Regions from separate parts of the Homo sapiens genome. Here regions 1, 2, 3 and 5 are each linked to region 4. Evidence: promoter capture Hi-C in 16 types of primary human blood cells and fetal thymus (Javierre and others, 2016). All regions are on one chromosome and are shown on one strand. Each heading gives the region's core, a stretch centred on a gene start or on the middle of the fragment in contact. The rest is flanking DNA. Distances are from core to core; before and after follow the strand shown. Region 1 holds the start of LINC01913 (long intergenic non-protein coding RNA 1913). Region 2 holds the start of KCNG3 (potassium voltage-gated channel modifier subfamily G member 3). Region 3 has its middle 20 kb from the start of LINC01913. Region 4 holds the start of EML4 (EMAP like 4). Region 5 overlaps MTA3 (metastasis associated 1 family member 3).

The links. Contacts are between HindIII fragments. The CHiCAGO score rates a contact against its expected background, and 5 or more counts as called.
Region 1: a contact is called between a fragment that was not itself captured here and the fragment with the promoter of EML4 in region 4, in 5 of 17 cell types (naive B cells, total B cells, total CD8 T cells and 2 more). The highest score is 10.8, in naive B cells.
Region 2: a contact is called between a fragment that was not itself captured here and the fragment with the promoter of EML4 in region 4, in 1 of 17 cell types (fetal thymus). The highest score is 7.5, in fetal thymus.
Region 3: a contact is called between a fragment that was not itself captured here and the fragment with the promoter of EML4 in region 4, in 1 of 17 cell types (total CD8 T cells). The highest score is 6.1, in total CD8 T cells.
Region 5: a fragment that was not itself captured here is called in contact with the fragment with the promoter of EML4 in region 4 in 1 of 17 cell types (fetal thymus); the score reaches 6.5 in fetal thymus.

The regions. Positions count from the first base shown.
Region 1 is chr2:41,874,543-41,879,016 of GRCh38, forward strand. It overlaps LINC01913 (long intergenic non-protein coding RNA 1913), which reads left to right and starts at 3,013. Exons shown (of 3, transcript NR_033996.1): 1 at 3,013-3,236. The HindIII fragment of the contact is 6,409 bases long and covers 1-4,474 here.
Region 2 is chr2:42,492,577-42,497,605 of GRCh38, forward strand. It overlaps KCNG3 (potassium voltage-gated channel modifier subfamily G member 3), which reads right to left and starts at 1,406. Exons shown (of 2, transcript NM_133329.6): 1 at 261-1,406. The coding sequence starts at 925. It also overlaps a transcript of MTA3 not described here. RefSeq lists enhancers at 1-350, 351-1,108, 2,433-2,727 and silencers at 1,189-1,278, 1,459-1,508, 1,599-1,678. The HindIII fragment of the contact is 913 bases long and covers 3,180-4,092 here.
Region 3 is chr2:41,895,003-41,899,573 of GRCh38, forward strand. No RefSeq gene overlaps it. Among named protein-coding and RNA genes, the nearest start is that of LINC01913, 20 kb to the left of the region's middle. RefSeq lists an enhancer at 1,542-1,591 and a silencer at 1,722-1,771. The HindIII fragment of the contact is 4,455 bases long and covers 1-4,445 here.
Region 4 is chr2:42,167,665-42,172,329 of GRCh38, forward strand. EML4 (EMAP like 4) reads left to right here and starts at 1,689. Exons shown (of 23, transcript NM_019063.5): 1 at 1,689-1,972. The coding sequence starts at 1,948. EML4-AS1 (EML4 antisense RNA 1) reads right to left here and starts at 2,567. Exons shown (of 4, transcript NR_110584.1): 1 at 2,306-2,567. RefSeq lists enhancers at 1,271-1,410, 1,423-2,075 and silencers at 1,491-1,540, 1,641-1,700. The HindIII fragment of the contact is 2,496 bases long and covers 1,234-3,729 here.
Region 5 is chr2:42,657,877-42,662,792 of GRCh38, forward strand. It overlaps MTA3 (metastasis associated 1 family member 3), which reads left to right. Exons shown (of 17, transcript NM_001330442.2): 8 at 1,887-1,986. Among named protein-coding and RNA genes, the nearest start is that of MTA3, 92 kb to the left of the region's middle. The HindIII fragment of the contact is 1,205 bases long and covers 2,597-3,801 here.

The DNA.
Region 1 (4,474 bases), core at 33-2,532, 290 kb before region 4:
TGCCTCTGTCAGAGGCTAGTTGTGGAAATCAAAAGAAATCATATATGTGGGGGCTTCTGACTTTGGATCCAACATGCATTAGGTGCTCAGCAGATGTTTATTACATGGATGGATAGGATCGTCGAACCTTCCTCCACTCTCACCTCCCACCCGCAGTGGTCCTCTACACCAGCATCTGCTGACAGCAGCATCACCACACACTTCCAGAAGTAGGCAGCTCACGACTTCCTGAAGCACCCTGTTTTAGAACTGAAAGGCCTCACTCACCTGGCATCATTGCATTTCTGTGTGCCCAGACTGTACTAAGTGTGGAGAAGACAGAAGACATAGGCCACCCCTGGAAGGTGACAGTGTAGCTCTGGAGACAGTCTGTCCATTCTTGAAATATTAAAAAGCATTAAGAGGGCCAAGCATGGTGGCTCACACCTGTAATTCCAGCACTTTGGGAGGCCGAGGCGGGCGAATCACCTGAGGTCAGGAGTTCGAGAGCAGCCTGACCAACATGGTGAAACCCTGTCTCTACTAAAAATACAAAAATTAGCTGGGTATGGTGGTAGGTGCCTGAAGTCCCAGCTACTCAGAAGGGTGAGGCAGGAGAATCACTTGAACCTGGAAGGTGGAGGGTGCGGTGAGCTGAGATCTTGCCACTGCACTCCAGCCTGGGCAACGCAGCGAGACTCTGTCTCAAAAAAAAAAAAAAAAAAAAAAGGCAAGCATCAGAGAACTTTCCAAGATGCATCATCTTCAAGAACAAGAATGGGAGGCAGTGGAGGTGTGGCATCTCCTCCTTAGGATGCAGAAGCTGAGCCAGCCCCCAGGCCAAACAAGGGTGGCCAGGCCTCTCCCTGGATCCTGGTACTCACAGAACTCTTTGGTTTCTTCATCTCACTCCTCCCTCCTGCTCAGTCACATTTTGAGTTATTGTCCCATGTAATTTCTAAGCCAGCCAGGTATCCCGGCCTTGTGAGACACCAATCTTGCTCTAATGTTTTGAATGTGAACCATCATGAAAAAGTAAGAATGATTAAAAAGGAGATTTTGTAACTATTTATCAATGTCAGAGGGAGCAAAGTCTTTCACATTCTATCACTCTAGCTGGATATCCCTAAAGGGTAGGTGTTTAAGCTCTTGAATCTGGCTTTTCTTTTTTTTTTTTTTTTCTTTTGAGACAAGATCTTGCTGTCACCCAAGCTGGAGGGGGTCAAGGACATGATCACGGCTTACTGCAGCCCCAAAATCCTGGGCTCAAGTTATCCTCCCACCTCAGTCTCCCAAGTAGATGGGATTACAGATATGCACCACCATGCCTGCTTTTTTTTTTTTAAATATATAAAAACAGAGTCTCATTATGTTGCCCAGGCTGGTCTCGAACTCCTGGCCTCAAGTAATCCTCCTGCCTTGGCCTCCCAAAGTGCTGGGATTACAGGCATGAGCCACCATGCCCGGCCTGAACCTGGCCTTTTAGATTACCTTCCAGCTCTTTTGCTTCTAACTGGTAAACCTAGGCAAGTTATTTAACCCCATTAAGCCTTGATTTTTCTCATCGGTAAAATACTTCCTCCCTTAAAGGACTGTAATAAAGAAAAGAGGTCAGCGATCTGTGGTTATGGGGCCAAATCTGGCTCACCGACCGTTTTTGTGAAGGCCTATGAACTAAGAATGGTTTTTACATTATAAATGGTTGAAAAAAATCAAGAAAATATTTTGTGACACCTGAAAAGGATATGACATTCAAATGTCAGGGTCATAAAGTTTAATTGGAATATAGCCACACACATTTGTTTACATCTTACCTGTGACTGCTTTTCTGCTACTACAGCAAAGTTGAATTGCTAAAACCAAGATGTTATAGCCCACAAAGCCTAAAATATTTACTGTCTGGCTCTTTACAGAAAATGTTTGCCAACCTCTGGTAAAGAGAAAATGAAGGAATGCCTAGATGTGCCTATAATAGGGCAAAAACCTTTAAAATGTCAGCTCCGATTTTCTTTTATTCATGTCTAGCTCCTGTCCAGCCATGGTATTTATGCCACTCTGTATTTGCATTAGGATAATTTTTCAGATCATTGCAAAATATGCATTCTCCTACAGAACATATAGGGATATCTATTTCTTAAATGGCATTGCTAACACACAATGCACTGACCTGACCTCACAGAAAGAAAATGGAACAACAGAGGTCCCATCCTTCCAAATGTCATCCACTGGTCTTATCCTTATGGAAATAGACAGTACACGGATCTGGAATGGAAGCAAATAATAACCGGGTCTCCAGATTCCATCGTATCACAGAACATAGAACCAAGAAAGTACCTTAGAAGTCATCTGATCCAGTCACCCCTGTTTTACCAATGAGGAATCTAGACCCAGAAGAAGTTAAAGGACTTACCCAAGAGTACCCAACAACTCTCTCACCACCCCAGGCTCCCATCTTTGTGTCTCTCCTGTGTGAGCTGTTCCCTGAAGTTCTTCCTGAACTTGCACATTGCCTTTCCCTTTGATTTTAAATCCTTGGCTCAAATGACATGCCCGGACTATATCGTGTGATATGAGCTTGAAAAGTAATTTACGTACAAGTCTTGAAAGCAAATCAAGTTTTAAAACAAAGTAGCATCTACTCTGCCCCAGCCTTGACATCTTATTACATAGCAAATGCTGGCTTTTTAATTTCCCTAATCAAGACTGGTCCTATTTAGCCCACCTCCTCAAGGGGTCCCAGCACTAGCCCCACTCCGACGCCTGATGAAGTTCCAGAACAGGTGAGAAAAATGAGAGGGCCCTGCCCAGGGCTCTGGGAGTCGGCCCTCACTGCCTGCCCTTCAGACAGCAAGACAGAAAAGGCATTCATTTTCTTCCTCCACGTCATGATACCAACCGAAATTACCTTTAAATGAGGAAGAAGGTCATTATTTAATCAATAGGATTGCGTCAATTGAGGAAAATTTGTCTCCAGTGTAAACAAGCGGAACGTCTTTGCGCTCTATAAAAACAAGGTTAAATTACTTGCAGATCCGGGCAACGTGGAGAGATGTAGGAAGTGAACCTGAAGCCTGACACACTCAAGGTCTCGGAACCGAAAATAATAGGAATTGTTCTTATTTTTCCAGTGGAATCAAGCACAGAGATGGGCACGCCTCTTTACAGAACCAAAGATTCAGAACTGTGCCTTACCCTTTGCTTATGAGGCGGAGGAGGAGGAAGAGAAAGAACCACCGCAAAGAGAGATGGCAACAAAGGTAAAATGAAGGCCGGGCAGCCGATCCCACTCAGGCTGACCACAGTGAGGGAGCAGCATTAAAATGAGAAAGGATCAGGTCTCGAAGCCCAGCCCTTCCCGCTGAATCTCGTCCTTTGCTTCATCCATTCCATTAAATAAGTCATATTGAAAATAAATTATTATTAATACAACAGTAGCTAACATTATGGGGTCTCACTCCATGCCAAGCATGCCAAACCCAGGTCATGCACGGTGCTACTCGATGTTCACAGCAGCTCTAGAGGTGGGTGCCAGTCATGCCCACTTAGCAGATGCAGAGGAGGGCAGTCGCAGCTGGAGAACGGCGGGCAGTTCTGCCTGTTTCTGAGGCCCCACTGCTTGAACTGCCAGCCTCAGAGCCATCTGCTCACTGGGTGCTCAGCCCCGTGCTGCACGCTGTGGACTCACAGGGGGAAGTACAAGCTAGGCCTGCCCCTAGGGCATCCCCATATCCCTGGCAAGAAGGGGATTTGGGGCATTTACTCCTGTTTAGGGAGAGGCTCAGCTCGTCTGGGAATCCCTGGATGAGCAGACTCTGTGCCTGCTCCTCTCCCGTACCCCTTCCCCATCCATGTCAAGGGCTTTGGCCACAGCACATAATGGGTCCAGCGAGTCACAGTCTCTCCCGGAGGCGGCCCCAAAGACCCCTTACCCACACCTCCTCGATCGCTGCTAGGGTATGAGCTGGAGGCTGTCGGTGGTGAATGGGATCTCTGTCACTCCACAGGCATCTGATGAGGTCTAAATTCCCTGCTCCCTGACAGAACTTCTTGGTGGGGTTATGGCTTCCAGGTTCTCCTCACCTACTCAGGAGACTGGGCTAACACTGAGTGAGGTTCGCTGACACCCTCTGTTCATTAACAACAGGACCAAAACCAAATAAATTTTAGCTCTGGGCTTTTGGACAGCCAGATTCCAACACTTTGGTGGTGGATCCTGACTAATGTTCCTTCCCCATCCCTCCTCCTCCCATCCCCCAACCCACCCCGCCCAGCTCCAATTCTGAAGTGTCTGAATGCGGAGTTCATAAGCTACCTTCCTTCCATGACCATGTTGCCCACACGGCCTCTGCTGAGGATCCGGGCAACACAGTCACCACGGGAGGAGGCCCTCAGTTACCCTAGCAGCGATCTGAGGAGTGTGGGCCAAGGGCTTTGGGGCCTCCTCCGGGAAAACTGTGGCAGCCCAGCCAAGACAGCAAGAGTGTGGCCTGGCCAA
Region 2 (5,029 bases), core at 2,386-4,885, 330 kb after region 4:
CTACACGCCCCTCCCCATGCCTGAGGATTTCGCCCTCAAGAGGTGCGTCTAGTGTAAGGGCCAGACCCCGCTGGTGCCCCGGACAACGGGGTAGGAGTGGGGACCGACCGGTCCCGTAGTTGGCCGCGCCTGGGCCTCGCTGGGCGCGCACCCCGCTGGCTCGGTCGCCCGGAGGCGGACAGGACGGAGACGGGACGTATGGACGGGACGGACAGACGCGACAGGACGGACGGGACGGGTAGAGAAGCAGTGCGTCCTACCCGGAGGGCTCCCTCCCAGGGCCGGCGGAGTACCTGCTCCGGTCATCCAGGCTGCGGTTGTCGGCGGCTGCGTTGCGCCAGTCGGGCAACGTGCTGGCGCACAGCACCACCATGGACACGATCACGAACACCACCGACACGCTAGCCAGGATCTGCGCGGCCAGCGACGACGTGGGCTCCTCGAAGGTCCGCCGCATGCGCTCCAGCCAGCGCCTGGAGGGAGCCGCCTCGGCCCCGCCGGGGCGCGCCTCGTCGCGGCCCAGCACGCCCGGCTCGTCGGCCGAGTAGAAGGTGTAGGTGTCGGACATGCGGTCGTCGAGGCGGCGCTGGCAGCAGTACTCGAGGTGCGCGCCCTCCAGGCCCCAGTAGATCATCTCGTTGTAGAAGGAGAGCTCGCACATCCGCGGCGCGAAGCGCAGCTTGCCGTGGCCGCGCACGTAGAGCAGGATGAAGCCGAAGGCCTCCGAGTGCCGGTCGAAGAAGTACTCGTTGCGCTCGCGGTCGTAGTCGTCGCACACCTCGAGCACGTCGCGCTCGGAGCGGCAGCCGTGCAGCCGGCTCACGCGGCGCAGCGGGAAGTCCTTCAGCAGCTCCCGGGACAGCGAATACCGGGCGCCGCCCACGTTCAGCACCACCGAGGCCGCCCCGCTGCGCCCGAAGGTCATGGCTGGCCGCCCGGGGGACTTTCGGCCCGAGGGCCCCGCTGCAGCCCCCCACCCCAAGCCGCCACGCGGGGCCTGCCTGCCCGTGGCTGACGGGGGAGCGCGCCGTCGGGGCCCGCGCTCCCTCGGGGCTCCGCTCCTGCCCTCCGCTGGCCCGGGGGTCCCTGGGCTCGAGTATCTCCGGCGCTGCTAGTAGCGCGCCCTCCGCCCGGCGGTACCTGCGGGTGGCCGGGGAGTCCTCGCCGGCGCCAGCGCTGAGCCCCACCGGCTGGGAACGCGGCTGTGTCCGCGCCGCCGACCCTCGCGCCCGAGGGCTGCGCACACCGAGGCCGCGGTGCCCTCTCCCAAGCCGCGGGGCCGACCCCCTGAGGGCTGCGGGCGCCGAATGGAGCCGCCGGGGCGGAATAGCTCCCCGTCTCCGGCGCTCCCTGCGGCCGCGAATCCGGCGGCCGCCCCGCCGCCGTCCAGAGGCGAGAGGCAAAGTGAGCGGGTTCGGAGGCGGCGAAGAGCCGGCTCGCGGCGGCGGGGGCGGGGCCTCTGTGCAGTCCTCCTCCTCGCCCGCCGGCTCCGCGCGCGCCGCTCACCTCCCTCCGCGCCGCCCTCCGCTTCCCGCCCGCGCCCGCACCTCCCCGGCTTGCTCGGGCTGGGATTCCCGGGCGCCCCGCCCTGGACCTCGGGCTCCCCGCCTCGTGACGCCGTCCTCCCCCTCCGCTCCGGCCCGTAGTGGCGGGGAGGGGTCCGCAGGGCGGGGGAGCGGGGAGCCCAGCGCCGGGATGCCTGCTCCCGCGTCCTGCCCTGGGCCATCGGGATGAATTGGGCAGTCCCCAGGGCCCCTTTTAACAGCCCTGGTTCAAAGCCCAGTGTGGACTCGGGTGCGGGGACAGACGGCGTTTGGAGAGCTTTTTCCAGAAACTGTCCGGAGCCCAGCTCGGGTTCTGACATCGCCCCTAAGGATTTCTCAGGGAAGGCATCCCAGCCACGGCTTTTCCTGCCGACTTTGCTCTTCCTACCGCCGCGCGGGGCGACCCACGTACCGCGTGCTCAGAGGGCGGCTACACGCCCCATCCCCCAGCCTCGGTGCCGCCTGCCAGCCCGCGGAGGGAAGCGGTCCCCGACCCGGCCCCGGCCCCCACGTTCTGGGGCGCGAGTCCTGAGAAGGCGCCTAACGTGTAGCGCGCCTGGACCCTCTCGAGATGCTGCCCTTAGAGTGGGATGAAAGTCTGGGGAGGAACGCCTTGTCACCGGCAAAAACAGCCTTTCTCTTGGTCTTCGTCTGCATCCTCCTTTTCAAAATATCTTGATTTCCCCCGCGCACCCCTGACCCGGCTGCAGCACCGGCCCTCCGAGCGGGAAGAGCCCCGTGAAGGCTCCGCAGAGCGATCTACCCCGCGCTCTTGTCCGTGCCCAGAAAGCGGGTTCCACTTGGCAGGGATTATTTTAAACTGCTACCAGCAATTCATTCACCTGACACCCGACACCGGCAGCCCAGCCCGCCGGAGGCGAGACAGGTGAGTTGTAAGGCGAACCGTGTTAGATGCAAAACAAATACTAGAAGAAAAAAATAAGGGTGGGGTAGGGTGAGATGCGGTCATCTGACCACAGGGTAACCTGGCTGGTTAAAGGGAAGAGTTTTTCATTGCCCTCTACTTTTCGTAATTTTGTAGGATTGTCCGGTGCCCGCTAGAGGTCGCCAAACGGAGTCCTTTTGCGCTGGTTCTTAAGTGGATTCCTAGTGAAAAGGCAGACAACTGAAAATGTGAGTGCTGTCTTTTAAGTAAAATCACTCTCGGTGGCTTCTTAAAGAATGAAAATCTCTGTGAGTTGTTTATCCCCAGACTTGGATAATTTATCTTAAGAGCACTAAATGTGATTAAAAGCTCAAAAACAGGAGTTATTTGCTACTTTAGTATCTACTAAATAGTTTGCTATTCAGTATCTATTTTGCTATTTAGTGTCTACTGGGTAGATACTGCTACTTTGCTGTTTAGTATCTACTAAGTAGATATTAAACAAGAAAAATATCTGTAAGAAAGTGAGTTTCAAGACAGAATTGGAGGTGCTGATGGCCATGAGTTGGCACAGAGAAAGGGCAAAACATTCCTAGTAGCAAAATCTCGAATGTGGAGGTTTAAAGTCTGTGAAGAAGTATAATGCACTTGCCCACTGAAACAATGGGGATCTCAACTGCAGCATTTAAATTGGATCCCATAAGCAATGGAATCCCTGGAGGTTTCCATAGCAGAAATGGCTTGATGAAAGCTTTATTTCAGGAAGATGCCTTTGCACTTTGGGTCATTCTAAGGAGAAGGTCATTTCGCAACCCAGGAATGGGATCCCCAACCCCGTGTCTGTGAAGATGAAGAAGGGTCTGTTCTGAGAAACGCTGAGACCAAGAACTTTGCAGGTCTTGAAGATGGATTTGTTGTAGGACGTGAGGATGGGGAAAAGTTTGCAGATGTGAGCCAGAGATGAGCCTGGCTTGATACCAAGAGCCAATTCATCAGGAAGCCGTTAAAAAATACTTTCTAGAAGCATCACAAGCAATAGAAGACAGAACTATAGTGCCGATTGTTTGCTCTAACATTATTGTAGGGTTTATTTCCTGTGTTCTCTCCGTAGAATCCTTCTACTGTCTGTTGATTGAACCAGTTGAAGAAATATCTCATTTTAAATTACATTTGAGCTTAGAAAACAAATTAATTTGATGACAATACAATGTGTGCCTCCTAGGTATATTTTCATGCGATTTCTTAGAGAGATAGGCTTAAATCATTTCATTTGTTTCAAGAGTAATATTTTTATTTGATTTTAATATCATCAACCACTGCTGCAGCAGCAATACCCAAATCGTTTTCTTAAACAAAGAAAACAGTGATGCAGAAATGATAGGCTTGTCTCAATATAATCTGGTTTAGAGAGCATTCTTAAAGCCAATTCTATTCTTTGTACTTTGAGAAGATAATGTTGAGAAGTATTACATCCAGATTCTCTCCTAGACTCGGGATGGTATTTAGGGTCTTCATATCTAAATCTTTAGAATGCATTACAATTTAAAGGTAGAATTTTAGAGTTTGAAAGAACCTAGAGGTTTTCTAGTTTCAGAACCTAGGAAAAAAAAAAAAAAAAAAAAGCAAATTACTCCCATTTTTTCCTCCCCTCCGAAGTTACAAAGCTTCAGAGATGTGGCTGTAACTAGCCCGAGCATTCCCAGCAGCAGCATCCTGGCAGAGGCTAGAATCAGGTTTTCTCATGTCAAACTCTGCTCACTCTGTTTCCAGGGCCTGGATTGCTGCCACAACCTTCTACCTCATCTCTTTGCACTCCAGTTCTTTCCTATCTCTATGAATTCTGAATAAGGCCACCACAGAGCTCTTCCTTCCATCCATTTTCATCAGGGCATTCCCAAATTCAAAAACCTGAAAGGTGGCTGGGTGTGGTGGCTCACGCCTGTAATCTCAGCACTTTGGAAGGCCGAGGCAGGCAGATCACCCAAGTTCAGGAGTTCGAGACCAGCTTGGCCAACATGGTGAAACCCGTTTCTACTAAAAATTCAAAAAATTAGCCAGGCATGGTGGTGCACACCTGTAATCCCAGCTACTGGGGAGGCTGAGGCAGGAGAATCGCTTGAACCTGGGAGGCAGAGGTTGCAGTGAGCTGAGATTGTGCCATTGGACTCCAGCCTGGGCTACAAGAGCAAAACTCCTCTTGAAACTAGAGGTTTTCAAAAAAAAACAAAACAAACAAAACCTAAAAGGAGTATATAAAAGTAGATAATTAGAAATTGTCCATACAATAAAGTCCAAATTGGCCAGGCGCGGTGGCTCATGCCTGTAATCCCAGCACTTTGGGAGGCCGAGGCAGGTGGATCATGAGGTCAGGAGTTCGAGAGCAGCCTGGCCAAGATGGTGAAACCCCGTCCCTACTAAAAATACAAAAATTAGCTGGGCGTGGTGGTGCGCCCCTGTAATCCCAGCTACTCAGGAAGCTGAGGCACGAGAATCGCTTGAACCCGGGAGGCAGAAGTTGCAGTGAGCCGAGATCGCTCCACTGCCCTTGAGCCTGGGTGATGGAGCGAGACTCCATCTCAAAAAAAAAAAAAAAGTCCAG
Region 3 (4,571 bases), core at 968-3,467, 270 kb before region 4:
AACAGCCGTAGCAGACACACAGCATCACTTTCGCCACATTCTCTTCCTTTGAAGCAAGTCACTGAGGCTGGTCCATGTTCAAGGGGAGAGGAATTCAATGCCACCTCTCAGTGGGAGGAACATCAAGGAATTTGCAGACATGTTTCAAAACCATTACAATGCATGTGCCATTGACATGCCTGAACATATTTTATGTCAAGTGTTTATTTACCACCAGCACAGTATCATCGAAAGGACATCAGACTGGAAGTCCAAAGTCCTGAACAAGAGCCTGTCAGCTGTGTGGGGCTGGGATTTCAACACCCATCTATGAAAAAACCAGTACCTGCTTGTCCACTCAGTTCAGCCACCCTCTATATGGAAATGAGGTCACTTAACCCCATTCCAGTCTCTAAAACCAATACTAATCCCAGTCAGCAGGTTAGTTAGAATGCTGCTCCTGGGGCACTTTATTTGACTCTCAGTTATGATAGCCTGGGTTCTCCCTGTCTCTGTGCCTGAGCCTGTCTTAGAAACGTAGCAGTCTATGTGTGGAGCACATCCTCAGGACTAGGCACTGTCACTGGTGCTTTATGTTTGCTATCTCATTCAGCTATTTCAACCCTATGAAGGAGGTTTCTTTATGCCCATTTTACAAATGAAGAAACTGAAATTCAGGGCAGGTAAGTCATTTGCCCAAAAGTTAGTAAAGGGCAGAGCCAGAACTATGAGTTGTGCTGTGGCCAGCTCTGTCTCCTCCAGGATCTGCTGTCCTGCCCCTGGACTGCCTGCCAGGACATCTGATGGCTTCTGGGTTGTCTGTACCTCTGCTCCTCTTGCCTTTTAGGGCCTCACCATACTTCTTGTTGAACCTTATCCCTGTCTCCTTCATGAACGACTCACTGGACTTCTACCATCCTGCATTCATCCTCCTGATCTAACTCCATATCCCAGCCCTCTGCATCTGCCCCAGCCTATCGTGCCCAACTGCACAGTGTCCTGGCATGGCTAGAGAGCAAGATCAAGCAAGAGAGCATCACCAGTGAAAAAACAAAAGCTCTGGAGTCAGACCGATCTAGATCCAAATGGTGGAGTGAGCTCCACCGTTTATTATTTGTGTATAAAAATAATGACACCCATGTTGCCTCGTTGTGAGGATTCTCGGTGAGTTAATACAAGTATAGGGCTTGGCATAGTGCCTGGCACCTAGCAAATGCTTAGTAAATATTAGTTATCTTTGCTGTTATTATCAATAATACTTGTAAAAGATCCACTAGAGAGCCTAGCATATGGTAGGCATTCAAAAAATGATAGCTGTTAATCTCATTGTTTAAGTCCTGGAAAAGCTACAGGAATTCAGAGAAGAGCCAGATAACAAGGTAGCAGAGACAGAAAACAGGCTGCCCAAGTAACTGCGCAGATCTGCAGATCTGTCTAATCCTAGAGCTTGGGTATGACTGGCCTTGATTAAGTGGAAACGCCTCCCTACAGAACTCCCATCTTCATCTGCCTCGATTAGGAGATGACAAGAGCTTCCTGAGCTTGGAAGCCCCTGGGAAGAGGAATTTCAAGAAGGAAAATCAGAAACACCCTGTCTGTGCTACGACTGCCCAGGATCCTCTGCTGTGGCAACATATATCACTGGCCACCCCACTGTGCCGTGTTCATCTAGTTGTCCTATATAGGTCTGTGGTTTCACAGGCTTCATCTGAGCCTGCAAGTTCTCAGAAAGTGGGTGAATGTGGTCAGAGTATGTTTCAGCCTCCCAGCCTCAAACCCACTCCAGGTTGAGATGTCAACAAAAACAGCAAGCAGGTGGGTAGAAAGCAACCATCAGATTTATAAAAGAGCTGTCAGATAACCACACACAGGCACTCACACTTGTGAGCATTTGAGAGCTGTGGTGCTGGTGCCCTCTTTTACCTTATTTTTCCTGCTGCTACCCTCCCAGGATCCTCACAACTAGATCCACCGATGCTCACAGCTCCTGAGTCAATGCTAACCAAGCTGGAGAGTATGTAAAGTTTGAGCAGATACAACGGCTTGGAATAATGTCACCAGCTCAGTTACAACTACTTGGCTCCTGTGTTCCTCCTGATTTTCCTTCAAGCCAGATGATCAATGAGGTGACAGGTATTTCCCCCAGACCACTCTCATTTCCCTTTTCCAATCATACATGGATCTGGTGCCCTCAGGGATGACCTCTAAGAACCCACATTCCTGCACCACGTTGCCTCTGAGCCTGAGCTCTCCTCTCCCCTCTCCTGGGCCCATTGTGATACAATCAGGCTCTTCTGTCCCTAATTTTGCCTAGGACCCAGTTCTTCTCTGTATAAGTCAGACATTGCTGTGATAATACTATGTAATAAACCATCCCATAATCTTAGTGGCTTACAAAAACAAACATTTATTTTCCTCACTCACAATCTGTGGGTTGGGTAGAAGGGCTGTGATTCAGGTGGTGAGTTGGGTACAGATCAGTTCCATATCTCTCTCCTGGAACCAGCAGCTACCTGGGATAGGCTCTTCTCATTACATATGGAAGCAGCACACAAAGGGGCTAGTGGAAGCCTCCCATGACTCTTAAGGCCTCAATTCAGAACTGTCTCGTTGTCACGTCCATCCATATTTCCATTAGCCAAAGCAAGGTAACTGGCCAAGCCCACAGCTGACAGCATGGGAATATAGGCTCTACCTCCTCTAGTAGGGTGCATGTAAAGCCATATGGCAAAGGGCATGGGTATATAATTCTATTGCAGGGAGGGAGTGGAGAATTGGAAATAATCATTCAGTCTCCAACATTTCTTAATCTAGAACTCAGTTACAAGCTCACCTGAGGGAATATACATCTTTTACTTGCCTGCTGGGCCTTCTACCCCTGATCCCAGCCCACTGGCCTAGGATGTGACTCTGAGTGAAGAAGTGTCTCACATGGAGACCCCGCCCACTTGGCTGCCAGTCCTTGGCTGTCACCAGCATCATTTACTCTGATCCACCCACCTGACTGTTCCTCTGGAATTCTTGAAGAAGCCTACCAGCCTAATTGGCTCCTCAGCCCTTATCTATACTGGCCTCAGGAGGGGCTAGAACCAAGAACTCAAAAACTGGAAAAACATTGGGGAACCAAGCAGTTTCTCCCACTCTCTCACTCTGCACTTCTGCTTCCTTCTCGCTGTGGGCATCAGCTTTCTCTGCTCCTCAATGGATGGTGGAATAGGGCCTGCTCTAGGCCTGGAGCCACTTTTGGCACCATCACCAGGATAAAGAGAATTCCAGTGTCCCATTTCCAGAGTCCCAGAGAAAGACCCCGGTCAACCATGGCTGGTATCATGACATAGAAACATGGTTGCCTACCCCTCTAGATGGAGGAGAAGAGAGGTGTGAGCTGCCAGACAGTAAGAAAAGCATGGAAACCAGAGGTTTCAGGCTGTAGTCTTCTGAGCTGACTCTGGCCAGAGATGTGTTTTGTTTGGCCCAAGGGATTTTTTTAATGTTTTCAATTACTTGACAAAAGTTAGAAATTGAGAGTTCACATATGAATCCAAATACTTTTTTCTTAAAAAAACTGAAAGGTCTCAATTGGAAAGGAGTGTGAGGGGCCTTATGGGTCCTGATGCTGTTCTGTTCCTCAATCTATGATCTATTCATGGAAAATTTATCAAGCCATATACTTAAAATAGATCCACTTTTCTATTTGTATATTACACCTTCTTTAAGTTTTAAGAATTTAGAAGGTCTATAATGAAATCACATTCCAGCAAGGAATAAGTCCTCTGGAGCTGAGTAGTTTTCCATACCACCATACCCCTCACTACTCCCCATTCTCTTCCTATCACTGAGGCCGAGGGTCAGTAGTCACTCATCATCGTCCTAGACTATGATTTTCTTATAACAGAGTTGGGAAGAAAGTAACTTTTATATGGACATTCATACATACATATCCATAACTCAAGCAAAAGGACAGACACAAAAGAGCATCAACGAGAGCTATGTGTTTGCATGTTTGCAAAAAAAAAAAAAAAAAAAAAAACGGAAAATAGCTTTTTATTTTTGGAGAAGTTAAAATCATTCTTCCAAGTTTGACATGCAAATGAAATGTGTCAGTATCAAAAGAATTCAAACAAAAAAGCTGTGAGGCTGGTAGGGAAACTTAACGATCTAAAAGAAAGTACTGATGTTTTAACATGTTTTATTTTTCAAAGCAAATAAAACAAATGACACAACTGTGAAATGAAGTTATGGAGAAGGAGAAAATATTGCTCATGCATTGAAACCTTTTATTAATGGTGAGTTTACAAAAGAGAATCTACTGAGGATAGAGAAATTCATACCTTGAACAAAAACAAGTATTTGCAAATGGAAGACTAAACAGAAACGCTGGTTGCTCAACAAGATGACGACATGGCTGAGAACTTACAGGACAGGTTGTGTGAAAAAGTTAAATCATTTGTGGCATTTCCTAGTGAAGCTTATGAGAGCCCAGTTAAAATAATACCACCCAGTCAGCTATATTTATTTATGGTTCCAAAGAGACTTCAATGTGATTGGAGAACTTTTGGTCATGGTGTCCATCACAGGCACAATTTCAGGAA
Region 4 (4,665 bases), core at 439-2,938:
TTTTCCTTCTGGATACACAGACTACATTCCTAGCCTCCCTTGCAGTCATGTGACCAAGTTCTGGCCAGTGGAATGTGGACAAAAGGGAGGTACACACTTCCAGGTCTGGACCATAAAACATATGTATACCAATATGCCAAGTTCTTATTCTTTTAATCGACCTAAGGCAGAGAGTGTGGCCTGAAGACACAAAGGAACAGCTGTCAGAATTGAGAACTTCTCAAACATTTACTTAGGCTTAATAGAAACTTATGCATATGAAAATGCCCATAGCAGAAGGAACATTGGGTAAATCATTTAAGTTTGAAGAGAAGGAAATTTTAGACACCGTTTAGTCTGTAACCTGAATTTATCTTGGCTGCGTTATGGCCAGTCTCCATATAGTATGGTATTCAGAAACAGGTCTTATATCCAAATAAGAAATGCAAAGTAATTTACATTTTTAGGGAAGATTTTTAAAGAGGCAACAAAGGGAGACGTATACCCCAAGAAGGTTTAACAATCCTTTCAATCATTTAATTCCTCTAAGTCTCTCTCATCATTACATATTTCTTGTCTCCCTTCTTGTTTGTCCCTCTCTCCTGCAACTCTGTGTAGTAGGACTCTGTTTTCCCCTAACTCAGCTTTTTATTATGTATTTATCAATTTATTATGTATAGATCAATTCAGTTCTTCAGTACCTTACAGCTCTTCTCTCTCTTACTCTAATCTGCACAACTGAGCCCCAGGAGGGACTTGACAAACCATGAGAAAGTCTTTAGAAGTATGGGAAATCGTGTTGGGGAAGGGAGGAAGAATATGAACGCTATGTATATTTACATGTTTTGGTTACATGTCCAGACAACCAATTTGCAAATGAATAAAGTGACGCCTAAATAAATTAGGTGATTTGACACTCTTGAGTCATACGGAGTTGGGCCTAGAACTCAGTGTTACTTCATTTGAAATAACCCTTATTATGGTTCCCTAGCAGGCCATCCTATAGCCTGCCATATATGGTCGTTTTGCACCCCTAGACGACAGAACGCTAGGGAGAGTAAGGAAGGCTGAGTTTTTGCTTCTACTAGGTTCGATGACCTTGGGCAGGTTGTCCTCTCTAAGGCTCTGTGTTTTTCTTCATAAGAAGGGTTAGACAAGATGAACTTTTGGGTCATGTCCAGCACTAAAATTCCTTGCTTCTGATCTGTCCCGGGCCCTGCGGCTGTGGCAGTGGTGGTATCGAGCTAGTCAAGAAGCTTCGCCCCTATTTGTCCCCCACCCTATTGGGGGAGAGGGAGAACCTCTCCCTCTTGGTTGCTTCTTTAGTGTCCTTGTAGGACCCACGTGGTGGTCATCTCCCGTCACGGGGGTCCAGTCTTGGCTCTGCGGGCTTCCCAGGGGCCACATAGGGAGAGGATCCTTCATGCATCAGAGTATCGCAGGCCAGAGTCTATGCCTTATCCCCACCTGTTTGGAACCAGCTTCCAAACCGTGGTCCCCAGCCTTCAGCAGGCCTACCGCGCAGGCGCAACCACCAGCCTGGCGCGAGGCGGACAAACGCCGAGGCCGAGGCAAGGTGAGAGGGCGGGGCTGGCAAGACCCCGCCTCCGTGGCGTCACGTGGGAGGCGGAGTCGGAAGTGTGACGGCGTGCGCGGGGCGGGGCTACTGCTGCGCGCGGGCGCGGGGGCGGGGCGGGGCGCGGCGCGGCGCGGCGCTCGCGGCTGCTGCCTGGGAGGGAGGCCGGGCAGGCGGCTGAGCGGCGCGGCTCTCAACGTGACGGGGAAGTGGTTCGGGCGGCCGCGGCTTACTACCCCAGGGCGAACGGACGGACGACGGAGGCGGGAGCCGGTAGCCGAGCCGGGCGACCTAGAGAACGAGCGGGTCAGGCTCAGCGTCGGCCACTCTGTCGGTCCGCTGAATGAAGTGCCCGCCCCTCTAAGCCCGGAGCCCGGCGCTTTCCCCGCAAGATGGACGGTTTCGCCGGCAGTCTCGGTGAGTACGGCTGGGGAGTCCTGCGTCTTCTGCGAAGGGTAGGAACTTTTTTCCTTCCGCACACAGCCCAGGCCCTGCCCTCCCGCCTGCCCCTCGGGGTGGCAGCGGCTCCACTGCACATGTTCCCTTCGAGGCTGCCGCCCCTCCGCGGACTCCGGTGGACTGAGGGCCCCTCCCCCATGTCCAACTCTCCTCTGTGTCAGACCCTCCTTTCCTCCCGGAGCCCCTTTCAGTGCGGGGCCCTCGTTCCCCCAAAGTGGGAACCCCTTCCTTCTCAGGCCCCCCGATAGCTGGCACACCCCTCCCCGTACACTCACGGCTCCCTCCACTTACCCCCCTTCAGAGTTGGGACATTTCTTCAAATCCAGGCTCCTCTTCAGGGTACAACCTTCCACCACCTTTCCACATACACGCCTCTCTTTCAGGGTGGGGATCGCCTTCACCCGAACAGAGGCTCCTTTTTAGGGGAGGGACCCTCATTCCCTCTTCAGGAAGGGGGCATCCCCCGCCCCCAAGTCTTCACTTTAGATTTGAAGGCGACTTTCCAGTATCCTTCAGAGTAGTAGGCAACTTCCTTTTCAATCCCTCCACTTCTCTGAGCATTTTGCAGTGGTGGAGAGACCTAGAAGCATCGGAGCATCATTTGCTTAATGCAGGAAAGGAAGAGGTGCATCTGTGTTGGGGGACCCTCTTTAAGAGTGAAAGCAGAAGTGTTTTCTGGTTCTGCATACATGCTGGGGAGAAGTGATTCTGCCCAATGAATCAATAGGAAAGGGGGCCTCTATCAGGGAAGGAAAGGATTCTCCATTTTTGGAAGATGTTGTCTTTGTGGAATGGAGAAAGGGAAGAGGTTATTAAATAGGCTGAAGTGCCTTTTCAGTGTTCCTTTCACCAGATGAAGGTAATCTTCTGGCTAGGAAAATCAAAACTCCAGGCTAGTATTCGCTGCCCTAGAAGCTGAATCTGGAATTACTATTCTTCGAGGCCATTGAAATCTAGTAAAAGATTAAGTTCAACTGTTAGAATGGTGAGAGAAACAGTTTCAGCTTTGGCTGATAACGCAGTTGTGTGATACCTACTGCTGGAACTGTATTTTGAGTTTTTTATGTGCAGGTAGCTTGTATTCAGACGCCTTTCTTTTACATTTCTTGATAATAAGTCTCTACTTGGTTAATGTTCACTGATCAGTGAGCAGTCTGGCCATAGGCCGTACTATATCCAGATAATATCGAGATGAGATGGATTTTTAAAATCTAAAGTAAAAAAGTAAGTCAAAGAGCAATGGGCCTATTATAGATATTAAATAGTAAAACCTATAATTTTGGCCTTCCCTTTTTCTTGGGCAGAAAAAATTGTCGTTATATTGCTTTCAGAGTGGAAATCCTAAAATAGGAGGCAACTGAGTGTTGTGTTACTCTTTCCTCCTCAAAGGCACCTGTTGTCCATTATCTAACCTTTGATGTCTTGTAATTCCTTACTTAGGTTGGGCTCTTTTTAGAGAGACATCCATTTTTCCCTGGTTCTTTTTTAGCTCCATGCGTTGGTTTATTCACAGTAAGTGTTGGACCGAAAAACTTGTCCTATATGTCCGCTGAAGGGCTGATCTTATACTAAAGTAAAAATTGAGTGTCTTCTTAGGGGATGTTGTGGAGAGCTGTGCTATCTTTATACTGTATTGGGTCCTCATCCTGTAGGAGTGGTGAGATCACTTTAACTTCTTTCGTGTTGGCTCTAAAGATTTCTGGAGGGCTTGTTAAAGCTTCATCTTCTGTAAGTGTTTAGGAGGAGTCTTTCTCACCAGTTGGGGCACTTAATGTTTATTTTCAAACATTGATTATGCTTTGTAATAGCTTTCTTCTTTCTTAACCAGTTTATGAGGCAAGTGATACAAAAGACCGAGAGATGAAGATGAATTGCAGTTGGGGCTCACACTTTTCATAAAGAGCGTCATTGTTGACCCTAATGTTGGATTTAAAAAATTCATTTGATGCCATGCTTTGGGTGGTATGTGATGAGACTTTCCTTTAGATATGGTGTTAATCAGGAGCAGAGGAGATATGCCTATCAGAGGAACCTGCATCTGCAGAGAGGGAAGGAAATGGTTCCTGGCAGTATTTCTGGAGCTGTTCTTGATGAAGATACTTCTCAGTGGGAGCTCTGTGCTTTCTCTTTCTGTCCCCCTTGCAAGAGTAAAACTAGGCCCCATCTTAATTGAAACCTTAAAGGGGTGGGGGAGGAGTAGTGCTGGTATATTTTACTGGTAGTCTTTAAGCGGAGCTTTGCTCAGCTCTTGCCAAATTGCTTGTTTCTGTTCTCTGCAGTTAATTAGCCTAGAGCTTAGAGTTACATTGATCTTTATTTTACCATCAGGAGAGCCATGAATATAAAGGCAAGCACTTCTACTCTAGTAGGTGTTTAAAAACTTTTTTTTTTTTTAAACAAGAAGTCAAAACGTGAAGTTCTTCTGGGGTTACAACTATTGAAAGCATTTATTCTCAAGGAAGTATGTGTGTATTTCCTTTTACATATTAGATAGATTCTTGAAAAATGGTGAAAAAACTACATTTTTATAAGCAGAAAAATTGAGTACTTTATAAACAGAATAATTTTAGAGAAGAGATTATTTCAGAGAATCCTATGGTGACTCATTTTGTGAAGTGAAAACTTAAAATTCAAACTGTACCCTTGATTGT
Region 5 (4,916 bases), core at 1,949-4,448, 490 kb after region 4:
CTGGCCAACATGGTGAAACCCCGTCTCTACAAAAATACAAAAAAAATTAGCTGGGCATGATGGTGGGTGCCTGTAATCCCAGCTACTTGGGAGACTGAGGCGGGAAAATTGCTTGAACTTGCGAGACGGAGGTTGCAGTAAGCCGAGATCGCACCATTGCACTCCAGCCTGGGCGACAGAGGAAGACTCTGTCTCAAAAAAAAAAAAAAAAAAAAAAAAAAAAAGATCTTCTAAATGCAAATTAAGACCACAGTCAAATACCACTGCCAATCCACCAGAATGGTTAAAATTTTAAAGACTGACAGTGCTAAGCATTGATCAAGATTTAGAACCAATACTCTCATATCCTGCTGGTGAGTGTGTAAATTGGTACAGCTCCTTTGGAATACTGTTTGCTGTCATCTAACACAAGTATCTCTTAAGTTTCACTCCTAAATATCTATGCAGCAGAAATGCATATACCTTTGCACCAAAAGATACGTATACAAATGGATTTATGGCACTATTCATAGTAACCCCAAACTGGAAACACATGGAATGTCTGTCAGCAGTAGAGTGGAGGTGGGGATGAGACGTCGTACAACGGAATGTCGCGTAACAGGGAAAATGAGTGAATACAGCTGTAGCTAACAACATGGATGAACCCACAAACGTAATTTTAATCAAAAGAAGCTGGACGTAATATCCAGCTGTGTGATTCTATTTGAGCAAAACTAATCTGTGGTGCTATAATCCAGGGTGGTGGTTCCCTGTGGAAAGGAGCTTGAGGAGCCTCTGGGTTGTGGTCATGTTCTTTCTTGAACTGTATGTTGGTGGCATGCATGTGTTCACTTTACAGTAACTATCTGTTTACTGTGTACTTTTCAACATGTTTGTTGTATTTTAATTAAAATATTTATAAAATTTCTTCCTTAGGGGTCAACCACAATGGCTCATGCCTATAATCCCAAAACTTTGGGAGGCCGAGGCGGGAGGATCACTTGAGCCCAGGAGTTTCAGACCAGCCTGGGCAACATAGGGAGGCCTTGTCTACAGAAAATTTTTTTTAATTAGCCAAAAAAAAAAAAAAAAAATAGCTGGGCGTGGTGGTGCATGCCTATAGTTACAGCTACTTGGGAAGCTGAGGTGGGAAGATTGTTTGAGCCCAGGAAGTTGAGGCTGCAGTGAGCTATGATCATACTATTGCGCTCCAGCCTGGGTGACAGAGTGAGACCCTGTCTCAAAAAATAAAAATAATAAAAATAAAAAATCTCTTCCATAGCAAACATGTTTAAAATACAGGCAGGAAAAGCAGTGAGTCTTCATTTTATGCTGTATGTGTTAAGGTTAGGGTTTCTTACATATTGGAAGGACTTCCAAATCATTAAAATCAGCATTATGGTAATTTCTTTTTAAATGAGATTTTAGTAGAAATCTGTTTCATGTTGAATCCTCACAGGAAGGGGTTGCTACAGTTAATGATATATTGGGGGAAAAATGTAACTGAGTTTTACAATTTGGGCTTAAAAAGTAGTCAAAACTTGCTTTGCTGTAATAGTCAAACTCTGCAGCTGACTTTTTATTTTTTGAGCCAATTTGAATAAATGTTTTACTCCATGACATGTTATAACAGAGCTTCCCTTTCCTTCTTTTTTACCCCCTGCACAGGCTATTTTTTTTCTTGATTTCATGATAACGACCTGTTTATAGTAAATTGGCTTGTCAATTATTATATCTTATAGAGTGAAAATTCTTTTTATTTGATGTTTGATTCTCATTCAGAAACTTGTTTTTGCCTCTTCTTTTACAGTTTTTTATTTACTATCCAAATGTGTTTTTTAAAACGTTAAAAAAACAAACCAAAACAGATACTTAATTCTTCCTTATTGTGTTTGTGGTTTATTCAGTGCTGTTGGGACATTCGCCAGAGCCCTGGATTGCAGCAGTTCTGTGAGGCAGCCTAGTTTGCATATGAGTGCTGCTGCAGCTTCCCGAGACATCACCTTGGTAAGACATGGTTTGAAATTTTGTGGGTATTTATCCTTCTGTTACTTGTTTAATTTTAAAGCCATTGTGGCAATACTGTAGACCGGGAGCTTTTGGGCTCTTAGCCTTCCTGACTGCTAGGTTGATTTGGCTTGGTTACTTGGTTGACTGGGTTATGATAACACTCGTCTGTGAGTTGAGAGTTTTTTGTGTCTGTTCATTAGAAAGAGGGGCTGTTTTTTTTTTTTTCTTTCTTTTTATATTTGGAGATGGAGTCTTGCTCTGTCACCAGGCTGGAGTGCAGTGGCATGATCTCAGCTCACTGCAACCTCCGCCTCCTGGGTTCAAGTGATTCTCGTGCCTCAGCCTCCTGAGTAGTTGGGATTACAGGCACGTGCCACCACACCCAGCTAATTTTTGTATTTTTGGTAGAGACGGGGTTTCACCATGTTGGCCAGGTTGGTCTCAAACTTCTGACCTTGTGATCCACCCGCCTCGGCCTTCCGAAGTGCTGGGATTACAGGCATGAGCCACCACACCCGGCCAGAGGGGCTATTTTCTATATAATTTTATTACATTATAGTTGATATCTTTTAAATCTATTTACTTTTTTCTTTCGGTGATCAAATGAAGCTTCCTATATTCAGTTTAATTTTACCACTAATGGCTGCCGTGGTCAGGCATAGGACCTGGCACTTACTGCTTTCTCTGCACTCCAGAAAAGTGGACCTGTGAGTTTTTTGCTGATTGAAGTTACTTACTGTATTTGATTCCTGTTACCCCTTGTGATAGGCACGGTAGGATGCTCATTTTACACACGAGAAAACTGAGTTTGGTGAGGTTATTTGACCAGTATTCATTACATGTAACAAAAGTTTCAATATTGTTTTCTAATGAAATGGAATACAATATGGGTTTTTAACTTTCTTATCATAATGCCAATTTGACATGCTTTTCATAAAATATTTATTTTGATAATGTAAGAACTCATAGAGGAATACACATCAGATAATAAAAATAAAGACAGGGTCTTACTATGTGATTGCCCAGGCTGGTCTTGAACTCCTCCTGGCTTTAAAGCAGTCCTCTTGCCTTGACTTCCCAAAGTGCTGGGATTACTGTTGTGAGCCACTGCTCCCAGCCTTGTTTCTTATGCATTTTGTGTACTTCTGTACAATTATAGATTGTGACTAAAGCTGTGGAACTCCTTGCCTTTTCCTTTCTCAAAGACTAGAATTGTTCATAGAAGAAAGTTTTGTTTTCTCCATTGGGACATTAATATTTTACCCCAAATTTTAGGATCTCCAAAATGGGTTTGTATTTCAGTTGTTTAGAGCTTCGAGAATATTTTATCAGAGAAGCAAGAGTACAGATGTCATGTTTGCAAGAACTTTAAAAATCAGATATTTCACTTTGGGGGGCTGAGGCCAGTGGATTGCTTGAGCTCAGGAGTTTGATACCAAGGTGGGCAACATAGTGAAACCCCTGTCTCTACAAAAAAATACAAAAATTAGCTGGGTGTGGTGGCATGCGCCTGTCTTCCCAGATACTTGGGAGGCTGAGATGGGGAGATTGCTTGAGCCTGGGAGGAGAGGTTGCAGTGAGCTGAGATCATGCTCATGCCACTTGCCCTCTAGCCTGGGTAACAGAGTGAGACCCTGTCTCAAAAAAAAAAAAAAAAAAAAAAGAAAAAGATATTTATGTGAACCAGAACTATGTGGAATCTAATAACTACCTGTATATATTTTTCCTGGTCAAAGTGATTTTTGCTCAATTTAAAAATTAATGTATATCTGTTATGAAAAATTAAAAAATAGTACAGCAGCAGCCAAAAAAAGCTTTGTTCTCATTACCCAGAGTAGAATGTTCTTACTGTTTTGTTTTCTTTAAGCCCTTTTTTATGCATTATACATAATAATAGCAAATTACAGAATAGTATAGAGGATAATGTAATAAAACTCCATATAAGGGCACCTAAAGCAAATGTTAATATTTTAGTTCTTCAGGTTAAAAAACTTTTTTTTCAACCATTATAGTTAATGTTGAAGTCTCTAATATTCCCTTCTGAGTCCTACTTCCCTTTACCTCTGCCTCCTTTCAAGAGCCAGCCACTGTAACAGATCTGCTATGTATGTAGTCTGTGTTTTTATAGTTGTATTATTTATTATTCCAAAACAACATAAATATTCTTTTGCATATGCTTAAATTTATTGTGTAACACTTGCCATTTGCCCATTATTGAGATCTAGCCGTGTTAATAAATATAAACACAGTTCATTCATTTTAACTGCTTTCTATTATTTCCAATATTCTTGTATATAATACTACACAACATTATTTATGTATTCTGTTACCAGGGAACATCTGGAGTGCTTTCAAAACGTTTTTCTTTTGCTGTGTTACTCATAATGCTATGTTGAAAATTTCACACATATCCCTTTGTGAGCATGTGTGTGAGTTTTTAGGCTATAACTAGAGTTATATTTATATATATAAATTTATATATTTCTTGTGTCTTGTTTTTTCTAATGGTTTTAAAGTTTTCTTCATATTTAGGACTGTAAATCTATATAGAGTTTAATTTTGTGAATAGAGTGAGGTAGGGATCTAATTTTTCTCATATATTAAATTAATTGTCCCAGTACCATTTATTGAATTTGTTTCTTCATGATTTGTAATGCCCCTTTATCATATTTTAGGTTCCTAGATATACTTAGGCCTGTTTATAGACTTTTAATCTATTCTCTTTTGTTTTGTAGATCTATTTTTCCCTGTGCAAGCACCACATTTTAGTACATTTTGATAACTAAGTCTTATGTGAACTTTCTTTTTAACTGTTTTAAATGACCTCCACCGCCCCTATGTTTTCCCTAACTATATTATATAAATACTTTTTTTTTTTTTTTTTGAGACAGAGTCTCGCCCTGTCGCCCAGGCTGGAGTGCAGTGGT